2 separate regions of the Homo sapiens genome follow, and region 2 is linked to region 1. The links are contacts of gene promoters, found by promoter capture Hi-C in blood cells and fetal thymus (Javierre and others, 2016). All regions are on one chromosome and are shown on one strand. The core of a region is centred on a gene start or on the middle of the fragment in contact, and the rest is flanking DNA. Distances in the headings are between cores, read along the strand shown.

What was found. Contacts are between HindIII fragments. The CHiCAGO score rates a contact against its expected background, and 5 or more counts as called.
Region 2: a contact is called between a fragment that was not itself captured here and the fragment with the promoter of LINC00261 in region 1, in 2 of 17 cell types (erythroblasts and naive B cells). The highest score is 5.7, in erythroblasts.

Annotation. Positions count from the first base shown.
Region 1 is chr20:22,576,365-22,583,115 of GRCh38, reverse strand. It overlaps LINC00261 (long intergenic non-protein coding RNA 261), which reads left to right and starts at 4,474. Exons shown (of 4, transcript NR_001558.3): 1 at 4,474-4,606. FOXA2 (forkhead box A2) reads left to right here. Exons shown (of 2, transcript NM_021784.5): 2 at 1-2,118. The coding sequence ends at 1,266. RefSeq lists enhancers at 1-511, 512-1,083, 2,760-3,715, 3,716-4,671, 4,672-5,627. The HindIII fragment of the contact is 8,652 bases long and covers 1-5,770 here.
Region 2 is chr20:22,348,420-22,355,333 of GRCh38, reverse strand. No RefSeq gene overlaps it. Among named protein-coding and RNA genes, the nearest start is that of LINC01427, 69 kb to the right of the region's middle. The HindIII fragment of the contact is 3,691 bases long and covers 749-4,439 here.

The DNA.
Region 1 (6,751 bases), core at 3,225-5,724:
ATGAACGGCATGAACACGTACATGAGCATGTCGGCGGCCGCCATGGGCAGCGGCTCGGGCAACATGAGCGCGGGCTCCATGAACATGTCGTCGTACGTGGGCGCTGGCATGAGCCCGTCCCTGGCGGGGATGTCCCCCGGCGCGGGCGCCATGGCGGGCATGGGCGGCTCGGCCGGGGCGGCCGGCGTGGCGGGCATGGGGCCGCACTTGAGTCCCAGCCTGAGCCCGCTCGGGGGGCAGGCGGCCGGGGCCATGGGCGGCCTGGCCCCCTACGCCAACATGAACTCCATGAGCCCCATGTACGGGCAGGCGGGCCTGAGCCGCGCCCGCGACCCCAAGACCTACAGGCGCAGCTACACGCACGCAAAGCCGCCCTACTCGTACATCTCGCTCATCACCATGGCCATCCAGCAGAGCCCCAACAAGATGCTGACGCTGAGCGAGATCTACCAGTGGATCATGGACCTCTTCCCCTTCTACCGGCAGAACCAGCAGCGCTGGCAGAACTCCATCCGCCACTCGCTCTCCTTCAACGACTGTTTCCTGAAGGTGCCCCGCTCGCCCGACAAGCCCGGCAAGGGCTCCTTCTGGACCCTGCACCCTGACTCGGGCAACATGTTCGAGAACGGCTGCTACCTGCGCCGCCAGAAGCGCTTCAAGTGCGAGAAGCAGCTGGCGCTGAAGGAGGCCGCAGGCGCCGCCGGCAGCGGCAAGAAGGCGGCCGCCGGAGCCCAGGCCTCACAGGCTCAACTCGGGGAGGCCGCCGGGCCGGCCTCCGAGACTCCGGCGGGCACCGAGTCGCCTCACTCGAGCGCCTCCCCGTGCCAGGAGCACAAGCGAGGGGGCCTGGGAGAGCTGAAGGGGACGCCGGCTGCGGCGCTGAGCCCCCCAGAGCCGGCGCCCTCTCCCGGGCAGCAGCAGCAGGCCGCGGCCCACCTGCTGGGCCCGCCCCACCACCCGGGCCTGCCGCCTGAGGCCCACCTGAAGCCGGAACACCACTACGCCTTCAACCACCCGTTCTCCATCAACAACCTCATGTCCTCGGAGCAGCAGCACCACCACAGCCACCACCACCACCAACCCCACAAAATGGACCTCAAGGCCTACGAACAGGTGATGCACTACCCCGGCTACGGTTCCCCCATGCCTGGCAGCTTGGCCATGGGCCCGGTCACGAACAAAACGGGCCTGGACGCCTCGCCCCTGGCCGCAGATACCTCCTACTACCAGGGGGTGTACTCCCGGCCCATTATGAACTCCTCTTAAGAAGACGACGGCTTCAGGCCCGGCTAACTCTGGCACCCCGGATCGAGGACAAGTGAGAGAGCAAGTGGGGGTCGAGACTTTGGGGAGACGGTGTTGCAGAGACGCAAGGGAGAAGAAATCCATAACACCCCCACCCCAACACCCCCAAGACAGCAGTCTTCTTCACCCGCTGCAGCCGTTCCGTCCCAAACAGAGGGCCACACAGATACCCCACGTTCTATATAAGGAGGAAAACGGGAAAGAATATAAAGTTAAAAAAAAGCCTCCGGTTTCCACTACTGTGTAGACTCCTGCTTCTTCAAGCACCTGCAGATTCTGATTTTTTTGTTGTTGTTGTTCTCCTCCATTGCTGTTGTTGCAGGGAAGTCTTACTTAAAAAAAAAAAAAAATTTTGTGAGTGACTCGGTGTAAAACCATGTAGTTTTAACAGAACCAGAGGGTTGTACTATTGTTTAAAAACAGGAAAAAAAATAATGTAAGGGTCTGTTGTAAATGACCAAGAAAAAGAAAAAAAAAGCATTCCCAATCTTGACACGGTGAAATCCAGGTCTCGGGTCCGATTAATTTATGGTTTCTGCGTGCTTTATTTATGGCTTATAAATGTGTATTCTGGCTGCAAGGGCCAGAGTTCCACAAATCTATATTAAAGTGTTATACCCGGTTTTATCCCTTGAATCTTTTCTTCCAGATTTTTCTTTTCTTTACTTGGCTTACAAAATATACAGGCTTGGAAATTATTTCAAGAAGGAGGGAGGGATACCCTGTCTGGTTGCAGGTTGTATTTTATTTTGGCCCAGGGAGTGTTGCTGTTTTCCCAACATTTTATTAATAAAATTTTCAGACATACCAAAATTGAATGAATTTTACAGTAGGCACACAGGGACCTGCTCCCGAGATTCTGCAATTAACATTTCATTATACTTGCTTTATCACATACTTGTCCATCTATCTTCACCTCCACTGGTCAATCCATCTTATTTCTCTAAATCCACTTCAAATTTGCAGATACCAGTACACATCCCCCTAAACACTAAAGCAAGCACATTATTAAATGGAACTTGTATGGTTTATGGTTACTTTTTGAATTTGGGGGTTAACTTTACACACAATGAAATACACAGATCCCAGGAAGACCATTCCAGCAGGTTTATTTTTAAAGCCAGTAGAAGATCACTCTCCACATATCACAATTTTCCACCTTGGCTGTTTGAATGTGCCCTGTTGTTGTGGTCTCTTGGGCCCCACAGCTTGCTTCTCTTGGGGGAAGCCTCAATTTCACATGTTTTTGCTGTACTTCTGATCTTGGGCCTCCCTTCAGGTCAATGAGCCTGGATCAAACTTGCAAATTTGTGGTGCAGCACTTTGCCTGTTCACCACTGTGAACAGTGGTGGAATTGGGACTCTGCCTGGATCTTCCAGCCTCCTCTGTACACAGGGTGCCACCCTTTCCCACCCTTCTCCCTGGAGCAGGTATTGTGCACAACCATGGCAGACCTTTCTAACCCAGAAAGACCTTACTAACCCAGAAATGGCGAGACACTTGGTGTAGGGAAACATTTAGAAGATCTTCTCCTGGAATTGGTTTGAAAGGGTAAGTCAGGGTAACAATCCAAGTCTGTTTTTTAAAAATAGGGTATATTTGGGAGTGAGGAGGAGGTAAGGGGTGTCTGGCCAATGGACCATGACAGTAGTGAAGATGCCACTGTCGGCAAATTTGCTCCCCATCTCCCTCCAAAACTCAAGGCTCTTGCAAATCTTCTTGTAAGTTAGGTGAGGTTGGCAATCCAGGTTTGCAGGGTCCAGGGGTTATGCAGGTATTTTGTGAGCCTTCAAGGACTCTAAAAGTATAACGAAAAATCCCAGAGTGAATTCTTATACACCATGCTGCCTCTCCCCCCAGACGACCTCGCTGGCCTAAAAGGACGGCCAACGGCAGTGAAAACCAAGGCCGACAGCGCAAAGGGGAGTCTGGTGTTGGTTTTGCCCAGGACATCTGCTGGCTGGGCGAGGGCAGGATCAGTGTCGTCGCGGGTCAGGCAGACTTGGGAGCCACTCCCGCGCGCAGTGGCTTGCGGTGGGTAAAAACACTCCGAAAGCCTGGAGGCTAGGACTTTTTGCCTCAGGTTTCTAAGCTCAGGCTCCTTTTTTCAAGATTAGATCTTTGGGCTTCTTGACCATCCTAACCTGGAGTGTTCCAGCTACGCCCCAGACCTGGAGACTGTCTTTGAGTGCTACCTTGCTGGGGTCTCTGCCACCCCATCCCCCACCCCGCCGCCTTCCCCAACAAGCCTGGCCTTCCCACGCGCTTGAGGGGGGTTTGGCATCGCCTCCGCCTCCCACCCGCCACTGCCCCCCTCCCGCCACCAAATCCCTTTCTTAACATGCCACATTGTCCCGAAGAACACAAGGAAGAGAAATTGGGGAGGGGGGGATCCGGAGGCCACAGCCAGCAATCAGGCCGTCTCTCCTCCTAGCAAGGACACACACGTCGTGAGCCCGGCCTGAAATGTGTTTCATTATCACATAAAAGGCTCCCGTGGCGAAGGAGCCGAGAGGCAGGGCCGGGGGCCGAGTGGGGGACAATGGAGGCTGAAAGCGCTGCCCTAACCTGCTATGTTTCGTATGGCACGCCCATTGTGCGAGGGTCGTTTTAAACTACTTAGCGCGCCCCCCTTCACTGATCCCGGCCGATAAGATATAGTTCTGTCCGAATACATAAAAAGGATGTCGGGGAGCAGGCGCTTTCGGAGGCTTTTCTGTGCTTCTTGTGTCTTTCACGCCCCCCTCCCGCTTAAATCCCTCCCCTAGCCCGGGTTCCGAGATAACGAGCTCACAAATCGCCACTGCGCGCTTTCCCCAACTCTACTCATTGTGGGGTGCAGAGACTCTCCCCCCTCCTTTTTTTCCTTTTTTCCCCACGCTTTCCGCGCGCCGGTTTAAGCAACCATGATCTGTGAATAAACAAAGTCTGTAAACAACCGAAAAAAACATTCTAGATCCGAATTCCAGGAGGGTAAACTTTCCATGCCACGTCACACTTCAGCAAATTTGCACAGATATTATATTGCCTCCCCCCTCCTTTATTATTCTTTTTTTTTTTTTTTTGCCAGGATCCCATTGTACTTAACTGAATTTTATAACGCTGATCGATATCTTGGTAAAATATTCATTTTTAAACTAGCGGGCAGTGAAATCTTTGCTTTGTGTGCTAAAGTCAACAGTCGCTTGGTTTGAGCTCAAATAAATGCGGGGATGCCTCGGCTCGGAGCAGTCGGCCTCCTCCCTCCGCGAGCTGGACGCTCCGCAGCCCGCCCGCCAGCCGGCCCGCCGGCCGCCGCAGGTAGGGAGCGCGCCCACCCGGGGACCGCGCCCGGCTCCCCTCCTCAGCGTCCGCACCCCACTCCTGTCCGCTCACCGCCCCTCCCCCAGCCAGTCCTTCTCCCTTCCAGGGCTCGGACGCCCGGGCGGGCTTGGCTGGTGGTAAGCTCAGCCAACTGAGACTCAAGGCGTTGGGTTTTTTTGCAGGGGGTTCGGAAAGTGCATGACTTGGAAGGATGAGGGGTCGTAGAGTTGCAAACTCAGACCGCTTAGGCTCTGAGCTCAGTTAGAGGAGTTTGGTAGGGCCCCGAGGAAGCCACACAGGCCCCTCGAGCGGCTCGGGTCTGGGGATTCGATCTGAGAGCAGCATGTTTCCAGAGAACAGTGGAGGGTGGGGTGTGGGGAACCCCCTTGGCCCCAGAATCTAGTGTGGGGGTCAGCAGAAAATGATGTGCGTGGTGCATGGGAGTTTGAAGAGGCTGAGGCCGGAGCATGGTGACGCCCTCCCCTTGGCGCGCAGGGGTTCGAGTCCAGTCTCAACTCTTTCTCGGACACAGGCAGGCCGAGGAGACGATGGGGATCGTCATCAAGCAGCAGCAGGGGAGGGGCCGCGCCTTTCTAAGAGGCGAGTGAACCTTAGCTCTGGCTGCAGGAAGCGGCTGGTGGCCTTTTGCGCACAGCCGTGCTTGGCGGCAGGCAGGTTGGGGAGCCTCTGGGGTTACGAGCTGGGTCCAGGAGAGAAAGTCAGAAAGCAGACGCAGGGCCATTTATCATCGCATTCTCCCTGCAACCCAGTCGCCGATTTCCCCCCTTCCACGGGCAGGAGCACGCTCGCGCGTGCCGGGCTTGCCCTCGGGAATTCCGGAGGACGCGAGTTTGTAGGACCCAACAGAACCAGCCGCGTCTTTCCGCCGCCTGCGGAAAGGCGTGGACCTCGGAAAAATAGTAGTTCTGCTGCTGCCCCTTGAAACCTCATAAAGTTGTATTTCCCCAGGTGTCTACCAGCGCCCCCCCCCAATCCCTGCCCCCACGCCAGATCCACATTCTCTCTGGGGTCTTTTCTTTAAACGCCTGGGTAGCAGGCACTGTGAGAGGCCCGTGCCTGGCTGGGTTACTTTGGGTCTTTGGTCTGATGCGACAGGGAACTGGCACATGGAAATTGCCCACCACCCCCGACCGGAAAGCTTTTCCCATCTGCGCCGCAGTCACCAGACTTCGAACCCAAGTGGGCAGAAATCTGTTTCGTTGTTCAGCAGGGTCAGTGTTATGTAGTCACCTTCCTGTGTGGGGACCCTTGGTGGCCCCTCCTCTCCTTCCCTGGTGCCTTGGGCTGTGCGCCCGTGTCCACCGCACCCGAAGCCTGCTGGGGAGCGCGCCCGCCGCCCTCCGAGCCCCGGCTCGCCTCGGGTGGCTGGTTATCTTCGCTGAACATGATGGGACGCCTGCAGGACACACGGCAAGGCTAATCGTTTTTAAATAATTAATGCCTCCCGTTCCGCTGGTAATGCGCGGCGTCGAATCCTTCAATTACTTGTCATTAGACGGGTGTCGCCCCACGGCCTTCCCTCGGGCCTTTGATGGCCCCGGGTCCCCTCGCCCAGGCCACTCCGCAACCTAATTCAAAGGTGCCGTGCCTTTGAGAGCCGGGTACGGAGTAGCCATGACCCTTAATTCAGTGCGAGTTTTGAAAGAAAGACCCTCGCTGAAGAGATGTAATCTTCCAAATGGCCAATTTAAACGCCCAATCTTTATCGCCCGCCTTCTCCCCAGCTTCATAAAGAGAAGCCGCTCCTCAATGCTTTGGGGGCCTTTTAATGTGGGAGGGGGGCGGGAAGAAGCAAGAGATAAGGCTCAATATGGCATAGAAGGAGGCGTTAGCCCTAGGAGGTACCTGAAGTTACCTGGGGGCAACGCGTTTTCTTCGGGGCAGTGCATGCTTCTACACATCCGGGGGTCTGGAGGTGGCCCTGGCTTGGAGGGAGGGGTGGCCGAGATGAGATCTGGAATGTGCAGACACCAGTTATGTTTCAAAAGAGCAGCAAGGCCTTTTCTGACTATGCACCTTCACCCCGCAAGAGAGCGCAGGAAAGGAAACATTTTCCTCCCAAACACCATGAACCTGGAGTTGCAAGCAGCCCGTTCTGGCTTATGTCCGCAAAGTCGTAGG
Region 2 (6,914 bases), core at 1,345-3,844, 230 kb after region 1:
ACATTACGATAATACTGGTTATTATATTTGTCCATGTATTTACTTTAGTGGAGATATTTATATTTTCATATGCTTTTCTGTTACTACCTACTGTTTTTTCATTTCAACCTGAAAGACTCTCTTTAGCATTTGTTGTGCAATGGGTCTAGTCGTAGCAAACTCCCTCAGCTTTTGTTAATTTGGGCTATCTTAATCCCCCTCTCATTTTTGGAGGACAGTTTTTCCAGGTATAGAATTCTTGGTTGACACTTTTATCTTTCAGCACTATAACTTCTGACATTAACTACCTGGAGTTAGCACAGACTCCACAGTTTAAGGGCTCAGGCCCACAAGACTGCCTGCCAATCACAAGTGGTGGGTTTTCAGGTTACTCACAACTTCTGTCTGACTGAGCTACAAATCAGAGGCTTCCACAACCCAATTCTCATGTTCAATCATTTGCTAGAATGGCTCACAGAACTCAGGGAAACACTTACCCTTACTGGTTTATTACGTAATAAAGTAAAGGATCTGATAAAGGATACAGATGAATAACCAGATAAAAAGGTACATAAGGCAAGGTCCAAAGGGTCTCAAGTACAAGAGTTTCTGTCACTGTGGAGTTGGGGTATGCCACCCTACTGGTACATGGATCCAGTCTTACAGGGATTTTTATGGAGGCTTCATCACATAAGTATGATTATTAACTCAATCTTTAACTCCTCTCCCCTTCATGGAGAATGGGAAATGAAGCTGAAACTTCAAAGCTTCTAAGCATGGTGTAGTCTGTCTGGTGACCAGCCCCCATCTGGAAGTCCACCAAGAGTCAACTCATTAGAAAAAAAGATGCTCCTATCATGCATGCAGGAAGTTCTAAGGGATTTAGGAGCTCTGTGTCAGGAATCAGGCTAAAGACCAAATACTAATACAAAAGATGCTTCTAGCACTCCTGTTGCCTGGGAAATTATAAGGGTTTTGGAGCCTTGTGTCAGGAACTGGGGAAAGAGACCAATATATATATATATTTGTTATTCTTTCATGCTGGTTGTCACACATAACATGGTACTGAGACTTTCTGTGTCTCAGCTGCTGAATGAAGTGAGTTAATATGTTCTTAGCACTTGGCAAGTTCTCAAGAAAATGAAGCTATTATTATTATTATATTATCAATAATAATATGTATATCTCACTAAGGAGACCTCTGCTTCCTTCCACATATTCTGTGTGGTGCTGGAATTCTATACTATGTAGCTGAACACAGAGCTCCCTAGAATATGAGGTCTCATGTCTATTGGGAAGAGAATTCAGCTCTAAGCCCTGCCAGATTCTTGTACCCCAGTCAAGCAATGCTAGATGTTTATTGAACACCATTTATTTTATCAGAGAAACACTAATTGTGATATCCCTATGATTAATGACATATCTAACATGAAACTCAAAATTTGGTCTTCAGACCTATGACATCCATGTCACCTGGGACTTGTTAGAAATACAGAATTGCAGACCTCATCCCAGACATGCTGAGTCATAATTTACAAGATCTCCAGATGATTCATCTGCACATTCAAATTTGGGAAGCAAAATTTTAGCGCCAACTGAGAGAACCAAGGCTCCCTTAGCTGGAGCATGAACTTTGAGCTGAAGCCTTGTGAAAGCTAACCAGCCATGCTGCAGTGTGCCTCCAGATCTGGGCACGTGCATGTTCAGCAACCAACCCAAGATGAAGATGAAAACCACCTATACTCATCTGGATAGCACAGGGTCACTGCTAATATATTTAAAAGTAAATAAGAAATGATTTTAAAATTTCTCTCTTATATAAACTTCAGTAAAAAGATCAGCAGGGGCCTCTGATGAGTAATCATGAAGACCCTAGGTCAATCTTCAAACACTCACGAAATGATGTTTGAAGCCCTTGCGAAGAAATACAAAAAATGAGAGAGAAGAGGTTTAATGAGAAGCATAATTCTAGAATCTACCTCTGGTCCTACTGCCACCAGATCTGTGACTTTAGGCAAGTCACTTAACCCCTTTGAATCTCCATTGTGAAATGGAAATTTAACTGGTTAAATAGAAATTTGACTTGTTAAACAGAAATTATAATAGCTGTCTTATCTACTTCACAAGGTTGTCTACTGATGGATATCATGAAGTAATTCCAGTTTCAAAAGTTGTAAATATATTCTGCAAATATACCACAAAGAACTTGCAGCTTCCTATAGTCACCAAAAGTGTCTAAGCAAAAACTGTAGCCCAGGACCTGAGCTGAGGGATGACTACATTATAACAACTAGGAATTCTTGTCACCTTACTTTTTTAAGTCTTCACGTACATTGCACATTTAATACCTCCAAAATTATGAAGAAAAGTATTATTATTATTCTAATATTGACCTGGACATGAAGGCAGAGAATAAGTGTTATTCCAAAATCAGTATATTTGTCAATCATCATTCTCCATTTTCTCTTCCAATCTGACTCAGACATTTATTTCATAGGCCATAGCTCTCCTTGTGGAAACAACCATCGAAACTGTGACTTCAGACATTTTCAAATTGTGCATACGTGCTTTGAGAAAATGGAATAGTCCTGAGAAGTATGACTCCTAGAGAGATTGCTGTTTCGTAAACGGAATTTAACTCCCAGAGAACTGGACCTCACTTTCTCTCTAGCCCTCCAAGAGAAAGAACTTTAGGTGGAAAAAGACTTCTCAAGGTACAAACAAATTTAGCTATCAAAGTAGGTAATGGTGGAAATGAATGAGAATCATAGTTAATCAGGCAGACTTCACTGTTTTACAAAGAAATTCACATAATTTCCTGAATTTGGTGGATTTGGAACACCCTCCATCCAGATCTCAATTAGGAATAAGGTTTAGGATCATAATATTTTTGTGCTAGAGGTGACCTAGGTGCTGTGAGTTAAACTCTCATGTAACAGGGAAGGGAGATTTGCCTCATGGAGATCGAGTGACTCGTCCAGTTTAAAAATTTAGATATGATAGTTGTGGGATCAGAAAGTAGGACTTCCGAAACCCCATATACAGCTTTTTGTTTGATGTGATTGGAACTTGTTCCTAGGAGTCATGTTTATTAGGTTATAAAAGTGTCACATTATGAGCTGGTTCATTCCAGGCCATGAGCCCAAGTTAAGCCTTACATGGAAGTTCCAGAGGTCACCCTCAGCTCACTTGCTCTATTTTGCAAGGCTTCTAAAATTCCATAGTTATTAATTCTTCTGTGGATTTGATATCACCATGGAAAATATGTACAAATTGGCTCAGTTAAGACTGCATAGAATTGAAGAAGTGAAGGTAGACAGAAAAAAAATGTGAGGAGACGTAAGACAAGTTAGTTTAACTTTTAACCATTTCTCATTAAAAATGAACAGCTAGAACTTCATCAAGACGAACATCATCAAAAAAGGGGGGAAAAACAAACTTCCATATCAAATAAATTAGTCTCCATTAATCAACATATTTGTGACAACTTTTCTCCAATGAAATACTTGATCAATGACTTTCTTCTCTAGGTCTGTAAGTGGATGGCATTGGGACTATGTTTCCTCCTCTTTGTAAGGGCCAATCACAGATGGCTGGTATTTCGCATTCTATTTTCCATTGCCCCTGGGCTCCAACCGGCCCAGATGTCTCTTCCAAGAGTTGACGGTTAAAAGACTAAGATCAGTCCCAATATGTGGCCACTATTTTAATAAATATTTTCCTACTCATAGAAATATTCATCGATGCTTCTTTAACATTGAAAAGAGAGATTTACATTTTTAAATGTTGCATTTTGAATTAGGTTATAGAAGAATAACACGATGACCAATTTTCCACTTGCCGTTGGTTATTTGACTACTAATTTGATTGTAGAATTGTTCTTATGTTGTAGTCGTTGTTTAGGCTAAACTAAGCATTCAAGTGGGTTTTAAATTGCTGCTTTCAAATTGACTCACAGTCAAAATATACAGAAAATACGTTATACAGTTACTAATCAGATTCAGTAGTATTTTTAAAAATCCTTATATTCTATTTGAAAAATAAGATAATTGTAGATATAAAATGAAACGGTGTTTACTTCCTTTAGCTAAAAGAATAAAAAAATAAATGATATAGAAAAAGTATTATAAAAAAGAAAATGGCAAATATTTGCCTTTATGAATTTTTCTCTCATAGAATACACGTCTAATACAAAATGGGGACAATTCAGTGAAGAAACACAAATTTATAGCATTTTAGAGAAGAACTAAGAAATAGCTGGATTCTACAGCATAATCATGTCATCACATGTTTGTGGAAAGCAAACAGTTAAATGGAAATCAAAAGCTCAAAGTTTAGATACCTTCTAATCTTGAATACCTAAAATATATTTTAACTTCAGTTAAAAATAGATTGTAGATTTTGAAGAACAAAGAACAACTTAGTTAAAAGAACTAGCCCTAAACTTCCGGATTGAAGCTTAGTATTTTCCCCGACTTGGATACAGGACTTTCTATTTATCCCTGTGAGTGGGCAGGGCAATGTGTAGAGTTAACCACCTACTATAGATTTTGCCTGTAAAACTTCTGAGATTTATGGGCAGATAAGATCATATGCACCCTCTTCTGAAGGAGCAGGACCTTGTGAAAAGTTTTCAAACAGCTTCATACAGAACAGCCCCTGATGCCAGTGGGCCACCTGGGCAGCTCACTCTGTCCTCCGAGCGGCCTCTTCCTCTGTGTTCTGGCCAGACTCTAAGACCAAGCATTCGTCATTGGACAACACTTCTTTTCTGAGGATACAAGGAATAGAAATGATAAGATTTGCAATGTTCATCCATCCTTTCAGTCAACAGCCCAGCCATTTCACTGGCTATGCAAAGAGGCAGAAATATCGCTGAATGGTGAAAAACAGCTCCCCCATATTCAGCAGTGTCTGCTCTTCATGGCTCTGAACCATAGGATGGAGAGGCAAGGGTGAGCAACGGAGTCTTTATCCCTCCCCTCATGGAGTTTACAGAAAAAAGTTCTCCCTGTCGCTGTTCAGTCTGTGAATAGTAACCACTGCCTCTTCTGGAAGCTAAATAATTTACTCCTTTTGACCTTCACATAGAAATCTCTTCCAGCAAATCCCTTAGAATTCCATAAAAGAAACTTTATGAGTGAAATCCATCCAATAAATTCTCAATGAGCCAGTCATGGAATCATGAAACCGCTTAGGTGCCCAGCTTCCTTCTCTGCAGAGGAAAAGAAGGTTTCCTTGTGCTTGTCCCTTCCTTGGGAAGCCCAGCTCCTAGTGAGTGGGCAATCCGTTGCCAGCCCAAGCCAACACTCAGGGTACAGCCTGATTTCCACTCCCTTGAAACATAAACCTCTCTGTTCAGCAGCAGCTTCTGGCTCCAGAGTCTTTTTATTTCTCCAAACTGCTGCCTCTGTTTGGATGAAATAGCATTTTAACACATCTGAATTTTCTGTTTGAGGTATATTTTCAGACATGGAATAAAAAAAAAAAACACTTCCCTGCTCAATATATTTTTCTCAGAGTCATTTCGAAGATAGTAAGACAGATGTATTTTTTATGCCAAAAATAATTATCTCTTCCTATAAATTTTTTGGGACTGGATTTCAGGGTCTTAATAGCTTTCTTGGGATCCTTTGTATTTAGAGAATTTCTTCATGGTGACATTCCAAGTTAGTTTTTAAATCTATCAGCTATAGCAGAGGTGGAAAAATTGTGGCCCCTGGTGTAACTAAAGTTTCACTGGAACACATCCATGTATTCAGTTATAGATTGTCTATTGCTACCTTTCTGCTACAACAGCAGAGTTGAGCGGTTGGGACACAGACAGTATGACCCACAGAACCTAACAATTTCCTCTTTGGCCCTTTACAGAAAACATCTGCCGACCCATGTTGTGTAGCCGAAAAGCCAACCTCCCATTCCCTGCGTATACCATGTTCTCATTCTCACACTAAGTTTTCCACATTCATTTACTGTTCTTTTCAGCTCTTTTTTCTTATTCATCCTGGAGCTTTGGTTCATGATATTCTAAACACGGAGCCTCCTGCCTTTCCCAAAATGATTACTGATTCTACCCCAGCCTTCAAATTCAACTTATTGATGACTCTGCAGTGATGGAAGTAGTATGAGAAACCTACAGTCCCCAACCCCGTGCTCCACACTGGCTGTATTTTCTTGCCCAGAATATGAATATATTTTTAGCATATCTATGCCTTAGAATCTTTCCAGATTAACACATTCTTTAATCACTATCTCACGAATTTAATTTTCCATCTTGCCCTGTGCTAGATGCATTTCTAGGTGTTTTATGCTCCAAACACAGTTTATCATCAGTGCCTCCATGGCACTCCAAAGTTGGATTATTAAGTCCACTCTGTAGATGCCAGACTGAGGTGCAGGGGGTTAGGTAATTTGCTCAAGTTTACAAAGCTAGTAATTGGTGGAGCCAGAATTTAAAGTCACTCTTGCTCCCAGTTGCCTACAAAAAATCTTCATTACATTGCATTGCCAGAAAACACTAAAGAGTAAATTATTTTTACTATTCTAGTGGAAATACTTCTAAAATATTCTACATACTTCTCTGCCATTTCAATTAGATCATATTGAACATAAGTTAACCTCTTCAGGACTAGTTAATATCATAGCTATTATAAATGTTATAGTGGTATAGAAGCATTTGAATCTACAAAGTGACTTACTGGCTGCATAAACTTAGGCAACTAACAGCCTCTCTGAGGTTCAGCTGCCTCATCTGCACAGTGAAGTTAGTCATATACTCACAAAAGATAACATAAAATGCCATGAATGAATCAGGCACAGAGGAAGGATGCACTAGGTGGTTATTATTATTAGATTATTGGATTATTGAGGATACTCTTTAACTTGGCTGCCTGAAGACCATTTAGACTTACTTCCTCAGTGCTTAGAACTACTGC